Linked DNA regions of Homo sapiens: all the other regions are linked to region 5. Evidence: promoter capture Hi-C in 16 types of primary human blood cells and fetal thymus (Javierre and others, 2016). All regions are on one chromosome and are shown on one strand. The core of a region is centred on a gene start or on the middle of the fragment in contact, and the rest is flanking DNA. Distances in the headings are between cores, read along the strand shown.

Region 1 (2,814 bases), core at 267-2,766, 620 kb before region 5:
AGAATGGATTTGGAGTAAATCTGGGTTCAGATCTCAGCTTTCTGCAATTAACTAGCTTTGTGAGCTTGGGCAATAGAGTGAAATGGAACTAACAGCTCCTGGTTTTCCGTGTGCCAAACACATTTATTCTGCAAAGTATTTATTTTTTGTTCCCATTTTACAGAAGAGGAATCTAAAGCCTTAAAGGGTTAAGTAACATTCCTGAAGTTATGTAGTAAGATGATGGAGTTGCAAGGGACTTGTGAAAATGAAAGTTTAATTTTCCAAATAGGGCTATGTTGGTTACTTAGAAAATTTTAAATGGGATGAATTTTCTTAATCGGCTGTGGACCAATTCCTCTTTATCAGCATAGTCTCTCCCTGTAGGCAAATCTGAATGGGAATGCAAATTATAATTAGCTCCTTTAGTGAACCTGAAATCAGAAGAAGGGGCATTAATTGGATAACCTTAAGGTAGCCTCAGCTTGAGTGTATTCTTCTCCTCTGGGTATGTATCTGCGTCTTGGAATTCCTAGGAAAAACCTTTCTAAACTTGACCCGAACTACGACTCTCTTCCTCATCACTCCTTTAAATTCCCCCATCAATGTAATCTGCAGGCCATCTCCTTTCTTTGGGACATTCTATACAATATACATATATTAAGGGCTACAGTTTTAGTAAGTCCTGTGTGTCCTAAGGTTATATATTGGTCTCCTTGATTGGATTTTGGGTGTTTTCACTTTGAATTGATCTTAATCATTTATTACTTTCATTATAACTAATCTTGAGGGGATATCTTGTTATCAACCCCCCAGGTACCACCTATATAAATACCTGTTTGTCTTAACATGAGTAACATGAGTAACAGGTTCCTGATCTCTTTTGGGCAGAGTGCAATCATTTTGTTTTTCGTTTTTCTTCAGTCTCCAATTACCTATAGGAGGCAGTATAACACAACACGTAATGTAAGCGCCTACTTGGGCTTAAGGTCAGAGGACTTTGCTCTTAAATCTCTACTTTTTAGGCAGGCAAATTAGTTAACTTCTAGTTTCGTTATGTATGCAAAGTATATGTGCCAGCATAAAACCACTTAGTGCCGTTATTTATTATCATTATTACCTTTTTGTTTTGTTTTTTTGAGACAGTGACTCTATTGCCCAGGCTGGAGTGCAGTGGTGAGATAAAGGCTCACTGCAGCCTCCTGGGCTCAGGCATCCTCCCGAGTAGCTAGAACTACAGGTGCGCGCCACCATTCCTGGCTAATTTTTAAGTTTTTTGTTGAAACGGGAGTCTCGCTATGTTGCCCAGGCTGGTCTCAACCTTTTGGGCTCAAGCAATTCTCCCACCTTGACCTCCCCAAAATGCTGGGATTACAGGTGTGAGCCACTGAGCCTGGCCGTTATTACTCATTTTGATCACCAATCAGTTCTCCTTTTTATACCTTCAGAGACTTTGTGGCCATCAGGTTCTTTGAACATTCTGAGCCTATTTCTCATACATGCAGTTTTTCTCAGCTTCACAAAGACACTCTTAATATCTTGTCTTAAAAACATGGAAATGAGAGTTTTAGAATTCTTTAGGCAAGAAATCACTTTGAGTCTAGGAGTACTAAACTCCTATTTTCCCAATTATTTCTCAAAGAGTCCCGTTTCTGAGAGGAATTTGGCCACATCTTAACACAGTCATGTACTGCATGACGTTCTCAAGGATGGACTGCATTTATGATAATGGTCCCATAAGATTATAGCGGAGCTGAAAAATTACTATCGCCTGGTGATAGCGTAAAGTTGTAGCGTACTTTGTTTTGTAATCCCAGCACTTTGCGGGGCCGAGGTGGGTGAATCACTTGAGGTCAGGAGTTCGAGACCAGCCTGACCAACATGGTGAGACCCTGTCTGTACTTAGTGTAGCCTAAGTGTACGGTGCTCATAAAATCTACAGCAGTGTATGGTAATGTCCTAGGCCTTTCATTCAGTCACCACTCACTGACTCACCCAGAGCAGCTTCCAGGTATGCCAGCTCTGTTCATGGTGAGTGCCCTATAAGGTGTGCCATATTTTTACTGTACCTTTTTCATGTTTAGATAGATTAGATACACAAATACTATTGTGTTACAGTTGCCTAAAGTATTCCTTACAGTAACATAGTGTACAGATTTGTAGTCTGGGAGCAATAGGCCCAACCATATAGCCTAGGTGTGTAGTAGGTTATACCATCTAGGTTTGTGTACGCTAAGGCACAGTGACAAAATCGATGCATCTCTCAGATCATATCCCTCTCGTTAAGTGATGCATAACTGTATGTCATGAAAGGTTACTTTCCTCTAAGTAAGAAAAGTATCTTTTTGTTAATCCCTTGGTAGTTACCAAAAAGTTAATCCTTCTGTTAATTGGACCTTGGTTATTGTGGACTGTTCATGGGAAAGTCTTTTAAAACATGCTTTCTGAGTCTGTGTTTTGAGCCTTCTATTTCCGAGGTGTCCCTGTATTTATAAGGATGTGAGGGACAATTAATAGTTTAATTTTGAGTAACAATTGACTACATCGTCAGAGTCAGGTTTAATGATTAGCTCATTCAGTATCTGACCATTTGGCCCAGAAGACTTTAAAATTCCTTAATAACAGTGATTACCAGTTATTCTTGGTTTAGACCACTTTCTACCTAATTGTGAAATTTTCATAGCCTAAATCACACATCCTGTCAACTCTTCCTGGGAGAAACATGCATCCAAATGTATTATTGTTGTAAATTTAGTTAACCTTTACAGAAACTAAGTAATGAATTCAGACCAGTGATCTGATTGAAATTTCCAGTTGGAATATATTGATGTCAGT
Region 2 (2,700 bases), core at 29-2,528, 930 kb before region 5:
AGACTTGATAAAGGTTAGAGATCTTGAGAGAGGAAGATTATCCTGGATTATCAGATGGACCCACTCTAATAACATGTGCTCTTTTGTTTTTGTTTTTTGAGACAGGGTCCCACTCTGTCACCAAGGCTGGAATGTAGTGGCATGATCTTGGCTAACTGCAGCCTCGACTTCCAGGATTCAAAAAAATCCTCCCACCTCAGCCTCCCAGGTAGCTGGGACTACAGATGAGCACCACCACACCCAGCTAATTTTCATATGTTTTTGTAGAGACGGGGTTTTGTCACGTTGCCCAGACTGATCTTAAACTCCTGAGCTTAAGTGATCTGCTCACCTTGGCCTCCCAAAGTGCTGGGATTACAGGTGTGTGCCCCTGCACCCCACCTACATGTGCTCTTAAGAGCTGAGAATCTTGTGACTGAGAGATGCCACAACAGAAAAAGAGGCAGGAGAGTTTCGAAAGCATGAGAGGACTTGACCCACTCTTGCTGGCTTTGAAGATGGAGAAAAGGGGACCATGGGCCAAGGAGTACGGGTGACCTCTATAAGCTGAATGAGCCCTTAGTTGACCACCATCAAGAAAACAGGACCTTAGCATACAATCATGCGACACCGAATTGCAACAACCTGAATATGCAAGAAACAAATTTTTCTCAAGAGCCTCTAGAAAGAACATACCTTGTTAGTCCTAGATACCTTGACATTAGTCCTGTGAGGCTCATGTTAGACTCCTGATCCTCAGAACCATAAGTTAATACCTCTGTGCTACTTTAAGCCACTCCATGGTTGGTTTGGAGTATAAAGTAAATTTTCTAGAGAGAAGACCAAAAAACAAAGGTATGAAAAATAAAGGGGAACATATAAGAAAATCAGAAGACTGATCCCAGAGGTCTAACATCCAAAAAAGAGGCCAAGAGAAAGACATGGAAGAAACAGAAAAAAAGAAGGAATCAGTGAAATAATTCAGGGAATTTCCCCAGACTGAAGGATTTCCAGATTGAAAGGGCTCACTGAGAACACGGCACAAATTTATAAAGTTCAGAACACTGGAGATAAAGACCCCACAAGTTCTAGAGATGGAAAAAAAATGGTCACATTCAAAGTAAAAGGAATAACAATGGGTTTGGAGTCATGGACAACAAAACTAGAAGACAATGGAGGATTAGGCTTAATTTACTGAAGAAAAGTGATTTCTACCTTATTTTCTTCTTAGATTGAAAAGACAGAATGGGAGCAGGTAAGAAAGTTAGGAATGAGTAATACTGAGGGGTGAATAGAAAGGATGAATCCTCATCATTCATAGTGGAAAACTGGTGGATAATGCCGAAAACTGGAATTATCAATATATGCAAGTTATTTAAAAAAAAAAAAAAAAAAAACTAGGCCAGGTGTGGTGGCTCATGCCTGTAATCCCAGCACTTTGGGAGGCCAAGGAGGACAGATCACTTGAGGTCAGGAATTCAAGACCAGCCTGAACAACATAATGAAATCCAATCTCTATTAAAAATACAAAAATTAGCCAGGTGTGGTGGTGGGAGCCTGTAATCCCATCTACTCTGGAGGCTGAGGCAGGAGAATGGCTTGAACCAGGGAGGCAGAGGTTGCAGTGAGCCGAGATCGCGCCACTGCACTCCAGCCTGGGCGACAGAGCCTAGACTCTTTCAAAAACAAACAAACAGAAAACCTAAATGATTTTGATTTGAAAGTGGTTGCCTTCAAGGAGGAAAATGCAAAGGGTAAGAGGGTGGACTGCTGGGTTTTTCTGTTTTGTTTTTTGCTTTTTTGCAAAAATCCTTGTTTGCCTCTTTAAAATATGTACATGTTTAACTATAAAAAACTAAAAACTGGAAAGTAAAAATAAAAAGACTGATAAATTAGTGAGACAATAAGCTAAAAAAACAAATTAGGTTGCATGAATATACTAGGTAGCACAAACTTTTTTTTAGGGAGAAGTTATTTGCTATTTCCCTGAATCCTTGAAGTAGCCATGAAATCTCTGTGTTTGTTCTTTGAAGAGAGCTCTCAAGCCCCACACATTTCCAGTGAAATATAAGGACCCTTACTGACACTATTTCCAATTTTCCTTTCAGCTCTGAAAATCTATGGTGCGTAGGAAGATGGACAAAACATTCTTCGTGATGAGAAAGCAAAGCAGATTGTGATCACATTTTTGGAAAAAATAGATTTGCATATTCGATCTTATGCACAGAAAGATATCTGGCAAGACATTGACAAATGTTAATAATAGTTACTTCTTGATGATAGGCCCAGATTATTTTTATTATCCTCTTTAGTTTGTTCTTGATATTTTTTTAACACTGAGCTTATCATATTAACAGTAATCTACATTGTTTAATAGGTACGGGCTGAGCATGGTGGCTCATGCCCATAATCCCAACACTTTGGGAGGCCGAGGCGAGTAGATTGCTTGAACCCAGGAGTCCGAGACCAATCTGGGCAACATGGTGAAACCCTATGTCTACAAAAAATACAAAAAGTAGTTGGGTGTGGTGGCGCATGCCTGCAGTCCCAGGTACTTGTGGGGTTGAGGCGAGAGGATTGCTTGAGCCCCGGGAGGTCAAGGCTGCCGTGAACCATGATTGCCCCACTGCACTCCAGCCTGGGCAACAGAGTATAAGAACCTGTCTCAAAAAAAAAAAAAAAAAAAAAAAAAAAAAAAAAAAAACACACACACAAAAAAGA
Region 3 (2,763 bases), core at 153-2,652, 550 kb after region 5:
AAAACACATATCCATTGATGAGTCACCAAATCTGGGGAAAAGCAACTGGGATTGACTATGAGGCTGCCTTAATTAATCTTCGTCGTCTCGTTGCAAAGGTATAACCTGAATTTCTTTAGCTATCCTTTCTGCTAATATTCTATTATTTGCAGCAATTACTCTTCGTGACATCAAATCAAATGGTCCACCTAAAAGCAAACAAGTATGAAAAATAATTTTATCTGGTACAAAAATAATTCATATAAAACAAGTATAGCAATATGTACTATGGTCACATAACATTTTAATACTTTCAGTTTTCTTAAACAAAAATCTACTGTTACATTTCTACAATGTATAAGCTTAGACAATATATAACTGTTTCTAAGCATAATTTTTGAGTAAATAATGAAGTCATACCAGTTAGAAAATGTCATATTTTCTCTATTTTTGTGCATTCTTATTACCTCTTTATTGTTTAAGAATCTATGGACAGAAAATGTGAATCCAATGCATTTTCATACCACTGTCCTTCCCATTTCCTTATTTCTTTGTTGCCTTTCTCCCAGATCACTGGTGAATTCTTTCAGCACAGATTCACCCTTCGGTTTAAAATTTTCACCATCAGTTGAAAGCAATTATTTAACTTCTCTAGTCTCAACACAGAAAGTGATGGTGGAGGAAGTCCATCATCAACTATCACCATTGTCACCATTCAAAGAGCTCTGGGTATAAGCCTCAGACTCGGTGACTGTCTAGGCCAAGGGTGTCGAATATTTTGGCTTCCCTGGGCCACACTGGAAGAATAAGAATTGTCTTGGGCCACACATAAAATACACTAGCACTAATGACGGCTGATGAGCTAAAAAAAATTTTTTTAATCGCAAAAAACTCATTATGTTTTAAGAAAGTTTACAAAGTTGTGTTGGGCCACATTCAAAGCCATCCTGAGCCACATGTGGCCCATGGACTGCAGGTTGGACAAACTTGGTCTAGGCTTTTTCTACAGCCTTTCAGGAGTACCTGAAACTCACACTAGAAAAGGATTAGCCATTTATCATTGTAAGTCTCACATTACCATTACCTCTTATCCTTACCTCTATCTCCTAAAGCTTATTTTGATTTTGCACACAATTATATAGCTTGTTTCTGCTTCAAAAACTGCAGTATAACATATATCAAAAAGTTTTTTAAATTCTACATATGGACAAAAGTCCAACAGATGTGTGGAGATCTGCTTCACTCTCCATAATTTTACCTGTAACATCCATTAGCACGCCACCAGCTTCAGTAACAATAATGCCAGCTCCTGCAACATCCCAGCAGTGAATTCCCATTTCATAATATGCATCTGCTCCGCCAGTTGCCACAAGGCACATATTAACAGCTGCTGTTCCAACACTCCGGATCCTAACAAATAGAATTTAGAAATAAAATTGGAAAAAATAATCCTTTCAAGTAAGATATTCCTCCTTAACTTCACTTTAAGTGTCGATTGAAGAAACTTGGAACGATCTAGAGGATAAAGATTTTAAGAGGTGATATCTAATTGTAAAATAAAAATATGTATAAATCTAATTATCATCGTATATTATATAAATCACAAAACCCTCACAAAGCAATAATTTAATAAGATAAACATTAAAACAATAATTTTTCATAAAAAATAAAGACAATGCTTAATTCTACAATAATGAAATGCAAGTATATTAATATTTGTCTAAATCCAGCTACTAAAGCTTATATTATTTTACACACATATACACATACCCACAATGCAAATAGTCTCTAGGAGGTGTAAAATATCATGGTATGGGTCATTTTCAACTGGGTGTGCGTCATACATGTGCCTAAAGCAACAACAGCATGCCAGGCTCTGCAAAGACCTAAGCCTGCCTTGGAAAATTACTGCAGGTTTGCCCTCTCATAGCACCTCTTCCTTGAATACAAGTTAAGTTGAATATAAATACACTTGATAGCAATTATAGTAATAATTTATTCAGTAAAGAATCAATGTTAAAATTAATGGGTGAGTCTGATAATTTACAGAGTGTCAAAGTGTCTCTCCACAAGATACATAATAAGTACAATGGAAAAATAGCATCTTTACAATGGTCTACCATTACCAAGTTATCCAAGTTAATATCACTCATAATGGGACAAAAAGAAATGTGCCTGATAAAATGCACTGAGAAGGACAGAACATTACTTTTGCGGCATTCCTGCCAAAAATCCATGATCCAAATATAATCATGAGGAAACCAGACAAATTCAAATTCAAGAGACAGACTACAAAATAATTGGCCTATACTTCTGAAAAATGTCAAGGTGATAAAAGACAAAGACTAAGCAAGTTCTAAATTAAAGGAAATTGATGAGAAATGACAACTAAATGCAATACATGACTCTAGACTGGATGTTGGATTAAAATTTTCAAAATTTGAATAAAGTCTTATATTAGATTATGTATCCATGTTAATTCCCTTACTTTTATCATTGTACTGTGGCTATGTTAGACAATGTCCCTTTTATTAAAGACACACACGCTGAAATGTGTATTTAGAAGACAAACGTCATCATGTCTACAAGTTACTTTCAAGTGGTTTTTACACAAATTCCTTCTCCAACTGTTTAAAGCGATGGTAATAAGGGAGTGAGTTCTGTTCAATGAGATCTTTCACAGTTTATTTATTTAAAAACATGGAAAACTGATGACTAATGTGGCATTTGTTTTATATCTCAAAAATAAAAATAAAAAAATTGCACCTAAGTACATCCTTTATG
Region 4 (2,700 bases), core at 189-2,688, 970 kb before region 5:
GTGCAATGGCACGATCTTGGCTCACTGCAACCTCGCCTCCCAGGTTCAAGCAATTCTCCTGCCTCAGCCTCCCAAGTTGCTGGGATTACAGACATGCGCCACCACGCCCGGCTAATTTTGTATTTTTTGTAGAGATGGGGTTTCTCCATGTTGGTCAGGCTGGTGGTGAACTCCCGACCTCAGGTGATCCGCTCGCCTCAGCCTCCCAAAGTGCTGAGATAACAGGCATGAGCCACCGCGCCTGACCATGAGACCCTGTCTCTAATTATTTCTCAGTAGAAGTCTGCGTTAAAAGGTACCTGTGTTTGACAATAAGAGGCCAAGTGACAGAATCTTCCAACTGAAATCTGATTTCATAAAATCCAAGAGGAAGAGAATTTGAATGCCCTCTTAGGAGGAAAATGGGGTTCATATCATTTAGTCGTCTCCTTCGGCAGGTGCTGGAACACAACTCAAAGTGGCTTATGGTTTGCAATTATAAATCTGGGAAGAGATTAGATACATTATATCTGAGTACAGGACTATATGCATCTAGGGAGTTGAAAACATAGTCCTCATAGAGCTTTATCAAAAAGAAAAAGAATATGCAAATAAAAAACTAAAACTGAATCCAAAAAGGTAGCTGAACACCACACTCTCAAATGTTGTAACCAGACTTTTGACAACTGCTCAGATCCAGGCCTGGGTTCTACCATCTTGCCTCAGCTCATTTTTGGCTTTGGTTCCTAATTGAGCTCTTCACCTCGCTATTTAAGGACACTGGCTCTCTGAACATTGAGAACCTGTGGCTCACCGCATCCTCCCCTCCCCACCTTAGGCTCATCCTGTCATCAGACGGCTTCCTGATTTACAAGGCCAAGGTAACCAAAATTTGGACCATAAAATATTAGTATTCTCAACTTTCAAACACGAGCCAACCAGATGACCTGTTTCCAGGATCATGGCAGCCCCTCCGACCCAGAGCCTCTCCTGCTAGTGGGGTCTTCTTCCTCCAGTGCCTCCACTGACAAAGGAGCCACCGTCTCAGCCACCCCATGAGTCTGCCTCCCGTGAGATTTCTACAACTGACACTGCAGCCCCCACTTCCACTCTCATCTATTTGTGCCACTTGGATTATTTCAACTATATTATTCAACACTCAGCCACCTGTATTTACTGAATGGCTGCTCTGCCTAAGACACTGGCAGGGAGGGGAGAAAATAAGGGTATTTTTACAGTAACAATTAGGACAGTGTTTTGTTTCTAATAGCAGCTTGAGAAATAATTCGCATACTATAAAATCCACTATTTTTTTATAAAGAGTATGGTTCACTGGTTTTTAGTATATTCACAGAGTTATGCAAACATCACCGCAATCTAATTTTCATACCCCAAAAAGAAACCCACATCCATCAGCAGCCTAGGCTAGTATTTTTATGAAAAAAAAAATTTTTTCAGAGTTTCAGACTTGCAAACTTTTAAAACATTTAAAATTATAAACTGTCCAGGTTATCCAAAGACTGTACAGTATATGGTCCAGATTAATACAGTTAATAATTACCCACTCTGGGGCATATGCAACTTCAAGGGCAGAGGTAAAGATTTGCCTTGGGGAAAAATTCAGCACAACCATGAAAATAACAAGTAGCAATAAACGGGGGGTGGGGGTGAGGGCGGGGAAGGGGTTGCATTTGGATAGCGCCTCCCAATGCACTTGAACACTATAGCTAACAATACTGCATTATACACTTAAAAATTTGTTAAGAGGTTAGATCTCATGTTAAGTGTATTATCAAAATCAAATAAAATACAACGGCGTTTTTCAATCCTCCTAACCATCTTGACAGGAATACAAGACATTTACAAATGGGGAGCCTGATGTTCGGGGGATGGATGCCTGACTCCCAGTCACCCAGCTAGGGGACCCCACCCGGCTCTTCTGATTATCTGGCAGAAGTGAGCAAAACAGCTCAATCCAGCAGGCTCCATGTTAGCAGTAAGCAACTCTAATTTCATATCTGACTGAAAAAAGAAAAGAAGCCTATTTATGCTCTCAACATAATAAAGCAGCCTTTGTTTTATGCTAAGGCCCTGGTGATTTTTTCAGCACCAGTCCAGCTGTGACACACAGACGCTGGTTCGATGCCTGCATAAATGCTTTCTCTTTGTTTAGTGGTGAGAACGTGAGACCTCACTAAGGCCCAAGTCCTGGGTTCTCCTGATGTCAACCCCACAAGTGAGTAGTGGAGCCTCACTGGCAAGGAGACCTACCTGTGCCTTTCCCAAATGCCTGGGAAGGTAGGTTAGAGTTAGAATCTTTTAATTAAAATGAGGTAAAATTCTAATTACTCCACAGTTGTCTCCAGAATAACATCATTTCCAACTCATCAAGTCTTATTAGAACCGGAACCACTGGGAACACCAGCTCCACCTTGTTAACTAAAGAAAACAGCTCGCTTTTTCCAGGAACATTAACTCTTTTTTCAGACATAAAGTAGTATTTAATGGTTTTGCTTATTAGTCTCCAAGCCATTAATGACCTGAAAGAGATTAAACAACTTTTGAAAAGTAATCCATTGTAAGTAACAACGGTTAAGGCTTCCTTGTAGCTACGAAAAACACCCAGAGTGCAGGACACTCACTTAAAATTAACACTGACTTGGATGCACACCACACACAAACAAATACAACTCCCACATGTAATCTATTTTTATATGAATT
Region 5 (2,700 bases), core at 167-2,666:
AAAGCGGTCCTCTGCATGCTCTCTGCACAATGCATGCTATTTTAAAACATGATTTATGGGTCTAATTCCTGGAGCTGCCTTGAAAAATATAGTGGGTTGTTCCTCCCATGCTCCCTATTAGGAGAAGACACTCCAATTTGAAGAGTGCACTCTGTTTCAGACTTCAGGCCGCTATATCATGTCAGCATTTTCAGTAAATACTGTTCAATTGGACTTTAAACAAATGGAATGGAGGGCCACAGCTGCAGCCACTGCAGAGATAAAGTTATCCAGCCGGGAGGCTTACATAAGAGGTGCAGGACAATCAGGGTGAAATCCAAGTGTCATTATCTGAATCCTATTTCTTGAGACTTGCCTACATTCTTAAAGTGTATGAATTCACACGCCCAGAGCTCGTTTTATTTGCCTTAGGGCATAAAACACCGGGTCGACATATAAGTTGTTTTTTCCCTAAAGGACTAGGCTCCAATTATGAAAAGGTTGGCAACTTCTGCCTAGGGGAAGAGTAAAGCGGGATGCGCGGGAAGCCTGCAGGCCTGAAAGAAATGGCTCGCCCAAAGATCCATCGCAGTGCTGGCCACACTCCCCAGAGGAATTAGGATGGAGGTGACAAGACCCTGCCCAGCCCCTTCACCCCAACGTAAACACAGAGTCAAGGAGCTTGGAATGAATAATTAGCACGCAGCAGTCGAAATGCCCTAGGAGTACCTGTCCTCTCCCAGCATATTTCCAACTGGCACATTCGTGAGATGCTGAGGTCAGCCAGCCCTGGACTCCAGACCTTCCAGCTGCCTTGTCCCCTTCTTGGCACCCCGCACTCCCTCCTCGAGCTGGAACTCTGTTAACAAGAGGTGCCACCCTCGGCTTCCCACAAGAAGATAAAAACGAACCTCTCCTTCCCACGGCTCCCTCCAACTTCAGAAACTACAGTCAACTTACTGGGACTCAGGAGGCAGGGAGTCTTCCTGGCGGACGGCGCTCGGAGGCAGCCTCTGCAAACTCCGGCGCGCAGCGCCGCCGCCCCGGCACAGCCCGGCAGCAGCGGCAAGTGCAGGACCAGGCGCCGCCGCTCTGCACCAGTCGCCTTGGCTCAGCTGTGCCGGGCGCCGGGCATTCGCCAGGGCACACGACTCAGCGAGGCGGCGGCTGGGACTGAGGCTACTGCACCCGGCCGCGCGGACCCGAGCGCTGCAGCTGCCTCCAGCCCCGGAGCGCGGCGCTCCGAGCCCCTGGTGGGTGTCTCTGGCTCCAAGGGAATCACGGCTCAATTAGGGACCTGCCAGGAGAAAAACCGATGCGCTGCCGCAGGCAGAGCCGCCAGCCCGCCCCCAGTCGGCTGGTCACATCGCGGGCGCGCAGACGGACAAGCGAGCGGGAGGGTACCGCAGCCAGCACTCGCCGCCGCGCCGCGGAGAATGACAGGCGCCGAGGCGGAGCAGCCGCGCGGGGAGCGGGGCGCGAGTGCGCATGATCCTGGCCGCAGCGGCACGTCACGGGGGAGGAGGGGCGGGCCGCGGGGCGGGAGGGGGCGAGCCGGGCGGGGCCGGGCTGGGGGTGCACACGGGTGAGGACCGGCGCGGGGCCTGGCTTGCTCGCGGGAGGATGCAGGAAGTCTTCCCTGCCCTGATTTTATGAACCCAAAGCTCTGTGGTTGAACTTGTCCCAGGAGCCCATTGTCCTTTAAACAGCACCGTTTAAGCGGTCCTTAAGGTCCCTGGGGAGCCCACAAAAGCCAATTTAATTCAGGTTACAGCTTAACCGTAAAGGGTTGCCATTTGGGGGACAGTGATCTTCTATTGTGGCTGTGCATTAAAATAACTTGGGGAGCTTGTAAGAACCCTTTGCCCCGGACGCATCCCAGAACAAGTACAGGACAATGTCTGGGTGGGGCCCACCCAGGTATCAGTAGGTATCTAAAGATACCAAGGTACAGCAGTGCTTCTCAAACCCTCAGTGTGTGACAGAATCTCCTGCGGATTGTGATGAGATGCAAGATTCAGATTCAGTAGGCCTGGGATAATGAGGGAGACATCCTTTCTAACAAGCTCTCGGAGGATGCCAATACTGGAGGTCCAGACCCCCATCCTTGCTACTTAACGTGTGATCTAGAGCCTGGAGCAGAGCTTCTGAAACAGTTGGCCTGTCTGACAGTCACCCGAGGGGCTTATAAAAAACGCAGAACAAATGCCCAGGCCGTACCCCCAGTGATAGTGGTTCTGGCTCAGCCCCTGGCAAAGGTGGGCTTCTAGAATTCCATTTGGCATCAACACTCTAAATAAATCTGATAGGGGTTTTGTTTGGGCCAAACTTCAAGTTTACACTAGCAACCTGGAATTGGGAATAAACTTTTGCACTTACAAGGAGACAAACCAAGTCTAGAACTCAGGACATCTGACTTTGAGTCAGGGATTCTAAACCAACGGGTGCTTTATCTGACTAGTCCCAATTTTCTAAAATTATGATGCATTACTTAGCAAGAAAAAACATATAAATGGCATTAAATATACACACACACACTCTATTGAACACTCGTTACACATATCATTAATGGGAGCTTAAAGGTGGCTGGGGAAGAAGGCTCATCAGGAGAGGGTAAGGAAGACAGTGATGGAGTAAGGGATGTTGTTAGTGTGTCGCAGAGGGAAGGGTATGTGGGAGGAAACAGTTTAGACTCAGCCTACAGCTTGGAAAAGCCCATTG

What was found. Contacts are between HindIII fragments. The CHiCAGO score rates a contact against its expected background, and 5 or more counts as called.
Region 1: a fragment that was not itself captured here is called in contact with the fragment with the promoter of PAG1 in region 5 in 8 of 17 cell types (fetal thymus, activated CD4 T cells, naive CD8 T cells and 5 more); the score reaches 12.7 in fetal thymus.
Region 2: a fragment that was not itself captured here is called in contact with the fragment with the promoter of PAG1 in region 5 in 1 of 17 cell types (total B cells); the score reaches 5.4 in total B cells.
Region 3: a contact is called between a fragment that was not itself captured here and the fragment with the promoter of PAG1 in region 5, in 1 of 17 cell types (M2 macrophages). The highest score is 5.0, in M2 macrophages.
Region 4: a contact is called between a fragment that was not itself captured here and the fragment with the promoter of PAG1 in region 5, in 1 of 17 cell types (non-activated CD4 T cells). The highest score is 5.9, in non-activated CD4 T cells.

What each region holds. Positions count from the first base shown.
Region 1 is chr8:80,489,160-80,491,973 of GRCh38, forward strand. The region is part of intron 1 of ZBTB10 (zinc finger and BTB domain containing 10); the gene reads left to right. Among named protein-coding and RNA genes, the nearest start is that of ZBTB10, 4.3 kb to the left of the region's middle. The HindIII fragment of the contact is 4,296 bases long and covers 1-2,814 here.
Region 2 is chr8:80,179,107-80,181,806 of GRCh38, forward strand. All of the region lies in intron 3 of LOC105375920 (a long non-coding RNA gene), which reads right to left. Among named protein-coding and RNA genes, the nearest start is that of TPD52-MRPS28, 8.9 kb to the left of the region's middle. The HindIII fragment of the contact is 5,996 bases long and covers 1-2,700 here.
Region 3 is chr8:81,659,279-81,662,041 of GRCh38, forward strand. It overlaps IMPA1 (inositol monophosphatase 1), which reads right to left. Exons shown (of 9, transcript NM_005536.4): 8 at 1,238-1,389; 9 at 1-188. The coding sequence ends at 73. Among named protein-coding and RNA genes, the nearest start is that of IMPA1, 26 kb to the right of the region's middle. The HindIII fragment of the contact is 627 bases long and covers 1,090-1,716 here.
Region 4 is chr8:80,137,996-80,140,695 of GRCh38, forward strand. All of the region lies in intron 1 of TPD52-MRPS28 (TPD52-MRPS28 readthrough), which reads right to left. The region is part of intron 1 of TPD52 (tumor protein D52); the gene reads right to left. Among named protein-coding and RNA genes, the nearest start is that of TPD52, 32 kb to the right of the region's middle. RefSeq lists an enhancer at 584-633. The HindIII fragment of the contact is 4,101 bases long and covers 1-2,700 here.
Region 5 is chr8:81,110,652-81,113,351 of GRCh38, forward strand. It overlaps PAG1 (phosphoprotein membrane anchor with glycosphingolipid microdomains 1), which reads right to left and starts at 1,417. Exons shown (of 9, transcript NM_018440.4): 1 at 940-1,417. RefSeq lists an enhancer at 863-932 and a silencer at 1,423-1,552. The HindIII fragment of the contact is 5,316 bases long and covers 1-2,700 here.